2 separate regions of the Homo sapiens genome follow, and region 1 is linked to region 2. The links are contacts of gene promoters, found by promoter capture Hi-C in blood cells and fetal thymus (Javierre and others, 2016). All regions are on one chromosome and are shown on one strand. The core of a region is centred on a gene start or on the middle of the fragment in contact, and the rest is flanking DNA. Distances in the headings are between cores, read along the strand shown. Region 1 overlaps MANBAL (mannosidase beta like). Region 2 holds the start of NNAT (neuronatin).

The links. The method cuts DNA at HindIII sites, captures the fragments that hold promoters and counts their contacts. A CHiCAGO score of 5 or more calls a contact.
Region 1: a fragment that was not itself captured here is called in contact with the fragment with the promoter of NNAT in region 2 in 1 of 17 cell types (naive CD8 T cells); the score reaches 6.4 in naive CD8 T cells.

What each region holds. Positions count from the first base shown.
Region 1 is chr20:37,298,315-37,301,811 of GRCh38, reverse strand. MANBAL (mannosidase beta like) reads right to left here. Exons shown (of 3, transcript NM_001003897.2): 2 at 399-604. The coding sequence starts at 548. Among named protein-coding and RNA genes, the nearest start is that of MANBAL, 10 kb to the right of the region's middle. The HindIII fragment of the contact is 5,291 bases long and covers 1-3,497 here.
Region 2 is chr20:37,519,241-37,522,512 of GRCh38, reverse strand. It overlaps NNAT (neuronatin), which reads right to left and starts at 1,263. Exons shown (of 3, transcript NM_005386.4): 1 at 1,110-1,263; 2 at 75-155. The coding sequence starts at 1,181. It overlaps BLCAP (BLCAP apoptosis inducing factor), which reads left to right. Exons shown (of 2, transcript NM_006698.4): 2 at 3,163-3,272. RefSeq lists enhancers at 2,191-3,054, 3,055-3,272. The HindIII fragment of the contact is 15,256 bases long and covers 1-1,704 here.

The DNA of each region.
Region 1 (3,497 bases), core at 498-2,997, 220 kb after region 2:
GCCTCCTCGGCAGGGCCCACAGCCCAGGGTAAGATCAGGTCTCTCTCCCCCTTGTTATATAGCCTCACTGGACTCTGTACTTCTCATGGGAGCACATGGAGGTATGTTTTTGTTATCTGCCTTCCTCCCAAGGACTAGATGCTCCTCAGGTGCAGACACTACATCTTCAGCAGAGTCTGAAATGTAGTAGGCACTAAATAAAAATCTCCTTAATGGGTACATGAACAAATAAAGTATTAGCTATGTGGTTCAACCCACCAGGTGGAAATTCAGAGGCACACTAAATCAAAAAGGCCCAATGTAGACCCTGCTGATCTCAGTTGTGGTGGCACCTACTGTTAGTACTCAGAACCCAGCCTGGCACTCAGAGGAGCTGAGGCTCCCAGGGAAAAACTCACCGCCTCGTGGGACTTGGGAATGGGTACGATGATGGCCAGCACACAGATGAGCTGGAAGATGGCTCCCAGGAAGAGTCCGTACCGTAGCAGGTTCTCCAGGAAAGTGGGCTCGGGCACCTCCGGAGGTGAGAAGTCTAGGTCAGAGGCCATGGCCCAAGTCGCTTGCTGCCTGACGTCTCTTCTGACTCACCACTCTTTAGAACCAACTTGTAAATGCAAAGGGTCAGTGTCATATTTCTGTAACTGACATTTATTTATTTATTTATTTATTTATTTATGAGATGGAGTCTCACTCTGTCGCCCAGGCTGGAGTGCAATGGCATGATCACTGCAACTTCGGCCTCCTGGGTTCAAGTGATTCTCTTGCCTTGGCCTCCCGAGTAGCTGGGATTACAGGTGTGGGCCAACACACCTGGATGATTTTTGTATTTTTAGTAGAGACAGGGTTTCACCACGTTGGCCACGCTGGTCTTGAACTCCTGACCTCAGGTGATCTGCCCGCCTCAGCCTCCCAAAGTGCTGGGATTGCAGGTGTGAGCCACCTCACCCAGCCTGTAACTGACTTTTAACTTGAACACACACACACACACCCAAGAATATATACAGGAATTGTGAAATGTTAACAACTCTTGAATCTAAGTTGGGAACATATGGTCAGTCAATGAACCATTCTTTCAACTTTTCTGTGTATCTGATGTTTTCCAAACATAAAGTTGAGAAAAATAAATAAATGCAAAGGGAAGCACTTCAACAAAAATCTCAAATCAACATACATTTACTAAAGGCTGCTACGTTTCAGGTTTTGTTGTTTATTTATTCATGTAGTCATCCATTCAACAAATATTTCTTGAATACCAAGCACTGAAGAATGAGCAAAACAGACAAACCCCTGCTTTCTTGGAGCCTCTACATGCTCAGGATGGAAGCAGACAATGAACACGTCGAGATGTGATATGCCAGGTAGTGATAAGCATTTTGGAAAAAACTTAAGGGCATCATTTTATTTTGTGATGAGAAGGCTCTCTCTGAAGAACAGAGACGGGAATGGAGTGGAAGAGATAAGAAGTGAGAGAGGGAGCCATTTGTGTATCTGAGGGAAACACGTTCCAGGCAGGGAAAAAAGCAAGTGTGGAGGCCCCAGGGTGGGGAAATGAGGCCAGTACAGGCAGAGAAGTGATCAGGAGGGAGGGTGGAAGGAGGTATGATCAGAGAGGAGTGGGGGCGGACCCTGATACCTCCAATTTGATTGAGTAAAATGTAAAGCCACTGAAGGGTTTTGAGCAGAAAAGTGACATGATCTGACTTCCATTTTTAAATGGAGGAGGGACAACAAGGGGAGAGGCAAAGTGGACACAGGGAGAGCCAGGAGGAGGCCCCTGCCAATAAGCCAGACAAGAGCTGCTGATGGCGTGAATGACAGGGGCAGTGGTGGCCAGTGGTGCAAGGTCCAGCCTCAGCCCAGCTCTCCAGCCTCTCCTCTCAGCAGGGCCCCCACTCCTAATATCCTAGTCAAGCTGAAAGAACTGCTGTGGTTCTCCAAGAGCACTGGGCTCTTTCAAAATCCTGGGCCTCTGCCCAAGCTGCATACTCTGCAAAGAATGTCCTTTCCCACTGTGACTGCTTGACAAAGCCCCCACTCTGCCTCTAAGGCTGAGCTCAAGTGTCATCTCCCCAACATGCCTCTCCTGTCACCCTCCTCTTCCCCTGGCATGACTGAACTGCTCCCCCTTTACCACAGCACCCATCAGTGGCTTTCTTCTGCCCATCCCAATGATAAAGGGGCAAATTTACTTTGGAACCAGGCCCACTTGAATCTAAAACCCTTTGTGTTTCCAGAGATCTGTGCCACAATGCAATATTTTGCTAAGTCTGAGCTATCCAATATGGTGGCCATGAGCCACACATGACTATTAAGACTTGAAACGCAGCTAGTTTGAATTGAGATGCTAATTACACACCCATTTTCAAAGACCTAGTATGAAAATAAGAATGTAATCTATCTCATTCATAATGTTTTCATATTGATTACATGCTGAAACGATTGCAGTGGCTCACGCCTATAATCTCAGCACTTTGGGAGGCCACGGTGGGCAGATCACTTGAGCTCAGGAGTTTGAGACCAGCCTGGACAACACAGCGAGACCCCATCTCTACAAAAAAAATAATAAATTAGGCAGGAGTGGTGGCTCACTCCTGTATTCCCAGCTACTCGAGAGGCTGAGGTGGGAGGATCACTTGAGCCCAGGAGCTTAAGGCAGTGAGCCACGATCACGCCACTGCACTCCAGCCTGGGTGACAGAGCGAGACCCTGCCCCCACCCGACCCTGCCCCCACCCCACCCTGCCACCAAAAAATACACGTAAAAAATAATTGGCTGGGCATGGTGGGTTACGCCCAAAGTGTAAGCCCAACACTTTGACAGGCCAAGGCAGAAGCATCACTTGAACCCAGGAGTTTGAAACCAGCCTGGGCAACAGAGTGGGACCCTGTTGCTATAAAAAATTTAAAAATTAGCCGGACATGGTGGTACACACCTGTAGTCCCAGCTACTCAGAAGGCTGAGGCAGGAGAATTGCTCCAGCTGGGAGGTCTAGGCTGCAGTGAGCCAATGAGTCGTGATTGCGCCACCCTGAGTGACGGGGTGAGAGATCCTGTTTAAAAAAAAAAAAAAATTGAATTGAAAGCAAGGACTCAAGATACTAATGTTCATAGCAGCATTATTCACAATAGCCAAAAGATGGAAACAACTAAGAGTCCATAAACAGATGAATGGATAAGCAAAACGTAGTATATACATACAATGGAGTATTACTCAGCCATAAAGGAAATGAAATTCTGATACATGCTACAACATGAATGAACCTTGAAAACATTATGAGCTTTGAATAAATATATATGAAATAAGCTAGACACAAAAGGACAAATATTGTATGAGTCCCCTTATATGAGGTACCTGGAATAGGCAAATTCAGAGACAGAAAGTAGAATTGAGGTTACCAAGGGCTGGAGGGAAGGGAAATGGGGAGATATTGTTTACTGGGTACAGAGTTTCAGTTTGCAAAGATGAAAAAGTTCTAGAAATAGACAGTGATGACGGTT
Region 2 (3,272 bases), core at 14-2,513:
GGCAGCTGGAGCTTTTCCAACTGTGCTGAGAGCTGCATGGCGGCAAGCTGATTGGACCCACAACTTAGGTATACCTCACTTCTCGCAATGGGCTGTGTCCCTGGAGGATTTCGAAAAGCGAATCCTACCCAGTAAATGCAGCATTCCAGGAACACCTTGAAGGAAATATGCGATTCCTTTGGCAAAGGATTCCTTTAGCAGGGAATTCTTCCTGCAAAGGGAGCTTTTAGGGTAAATGATTTTATGGGCAAAGCGCTTTCTTCTGATTTATCTCTTTTTACACCAAGCGCTTTTGCCTCTTTTTTATTTTTTTTATTATTATTTTTTTTTTTGTAAAGCAATTGTCCTTTTTTGGAAGTGCTTTTTTTCCCCTTCTATTTTTCTCTCGAGGGGCTTTTTCCTCTAATTTTTTTCTTTAAAGCGTTTTTGCCCGATCCATTTTTTTCCGTTAGCTCCCTTGTCTAATTTTTTTCTGCAGTGCGTTTTTAATCTAATGCATTTTTTTCTGCCAAGTGCTTTTCTCCGATTTATTTTTCCTGCAATGCGCGTTTTTCTGTTTTCCTGTGAACTACTTTTTCTCTAATTCGTTGTAGGGTTTTTTTTTTTTGCGAAGTAATTTTTATTTTTTCTGAGAAGTGCCTTTTTCTAACTTATTTTTTGTTCCACCCCCGCAAGCGCTATATGTTTTTTTAAATAAAATTTCTCCGCAATGCGCAATTTTTTAAGGTGGAAAATTTTCACTCTGCGAGCTGTAAAGTCTTTCAACACAGTAGTGCCCCGCCTCCCTCCTGGGGTCGAGTCCGGGTGTAGCGGGTTTTTCTTACCGCGTAGGTCGCTAAATGCCTGGGTGATCGTCCGCAGCGGTCGCCCGCCGCGCCCCGAGTCTTTGTTCCCTGGCAGGCGCGGGCGCACTAGGGAGGGTCAGCGCGAGGAGGACGGCGCAGGGAATGGGCAGGGGGCGCGCGGTGCCGGCAGCGGCACTTGGGCAGGCAAGGATCGCGGCAATCGGAATAGGACGGGTCCGGGAAGCGGCAATCGCGACGCAGTCTTGCGGGTTCTAGGGGCGCGAGTTGGGAACCCTCTCCCACCCGAAACCCCGTCAGACTTACCTGCAGCAGCACGCGGAAGATGTACCAGCCGATGATGAGCAGTTCAGCCGAGGCCGCCGCCACTGCCGCCATGGTTCCAAGAATGGTAGGTGGGTGGTCGAGAAAGAGGGTTTGCCGAGATCCGCTGGTCTCGGAGTCCGCTGTTGGGCGCACTGCCGCAGCCGCGGTGGCCGCGCCTTAAGTACCCGCCCGCCACCTAAGTGCGCATGCGCGCCTTGGGGGGTGTTTATGAGGAGGGGTGGCTGGGGGCGCTCCTCATTCGCCAGGAGAGGAAAAAAATAATCCATCTGCTCTTTCCATACCGACCCCCGCCTCCTGAGTTCCATCTTAGCCCCCTTCCAGAAGATTCCGCCGTGCTTGCTTTTGGATTTTGCTTTAAAATGGAGGGGTACCACGACTCTGGGTAGAGTACAGGGCGAGAATGGGGGTGCAGGTCTCTTAGTGTGGCGCCCTTCTCCCCAGTCCCTGGCCTGCAAATTTGAGCTCAGTCTCCGGTGCCACTCCAAAGCCTACCTTGGGGATGGATGGAAAACCGAAATTAGGGAGGGGTCATCTGCCCCATAGAGCAAAAAACGTGGTGCCCCTTTCAGAAGCTTTGGCATAATAGGCCCGTGCTCGGCGCTCTTTTCCTGATACTGAATGAGTTTTAAGCCCAGGTCCTCTGCTTCATGAGGGTGCCTGAGCGCGTAACCCGTCTGATTCTTTACATCTCTCTTACGGTAGCGAGGAGATGAGAATCTGCGGTGGAGGTCGCTACTGTAGGGAGCTGAGCCAGAGCACTGCGCTTTGGGCGCAAAAGCAGTAGTCACCCGGTATCTGTAGGAGGGATACAGGAAGGATTGGCGCCCTTCGTATGCACGGAAGGAATGAGCTCTACGGAGAAGTGGTTGGAATATGCTTGGGGATAGTTTTCTGCTGGACAGGTCGTTTCGACCTCAGTCTTCCGCTCCCCTCCCCCAAGCCCTGGTAGGTCGGCCTTAGCCAGTGGGGTTCTTTGTACCCGTTGCGCTGTGCGGCTGGATCACCGAACGGGGTTACGCTACCGCTACCGGAGGGTTGTGGCTACCGCAGCCCCGTTTCCAAGTGAGGCGGGTCCCTTTTAGACCGCCAGTCTTGTGGGTCCCTCGCACAGCGCGGATTTTCGGGCGGGAAGACCGGAATGCGGTTTGTGAGTGTGGTCCCCGCGCACCGGTAGCCAGCCGAAAGCACCTCTTTCCAGCAAGCTGCCTGGCCCAGGGACCAACTGGCATTTGCCCCTATGTGGATAGAAAATTAATTTTCATTAAAAGCTCCCAGAGGTCAGGTTCTATACAGTGCCAGCAGCAGATGGAGGTGTAATGATCCAAACGAGTTCAGTTTGGACAAAGTAGCATAGTGACTTTTTTTCTACATTGACTTTCGGAGAAGTTGGCAGATTCTGGCAAAGTGACGCTGGGCTGTTTGAAAAAGGCAAGCTTAGCCTAGGCTGCCATCTTAAAATATTTCGAGGCTGTAGCTGCCTCAGGATCCTTTGCCTGTGGTCTGGTGGCCGGCAGTGCCCCGCTAACAGCTTTAACTCTGCACTTAGTGCCTGAGCACCTATGGCTGTGAGAGATGCTAGATACAGAACCCTGTCCTTACCACGTGGGGGCACAGCAGGGAGCCCTTGGTCGTCCTTTGGCAACCACTGGGCGGTATTGTGAGGTCTGGGCCCCTTGAGGACGGGCTGCAGCCCCAGGAGGCGATACATGATCTCTGCTGGGCAGGGCCCAGGCAAAGCCAGCCCACTGTGTGAAACCGTGCCAAAGAGCCCTCTCCCCGATCCCCCAGGAGAAGCCCCGGGGAGACATCCCAGGAAGCTTCCCGAATTAGTGACTTGGAGAGGAGTAGAACTTTCACGGGTGGGCAGGGAGGAAAGGGCATTTCACATTTGCTGTTGTTAACCATGATCCATTTTCCCAAATAAGTATACATTCTGTTCCTGTTTTTTTTTTTTTTTTCTTTTTTTTTTTTTTTTTTTGTCTGTCTGTCTGTTCTTTGTCTGTTTGTCTGTTGTGTTGACTTTTCTCTTCAGGATCCCTGCTGCCTTGGTGATCCCGGGCTGACAGCCAGAGAGCACAGCGGCTCAGCTCCTGGAGAGTGAGGGTTGAAGAAAGCGGAGGGCAGCCGCCTGCGCCCGCTGGC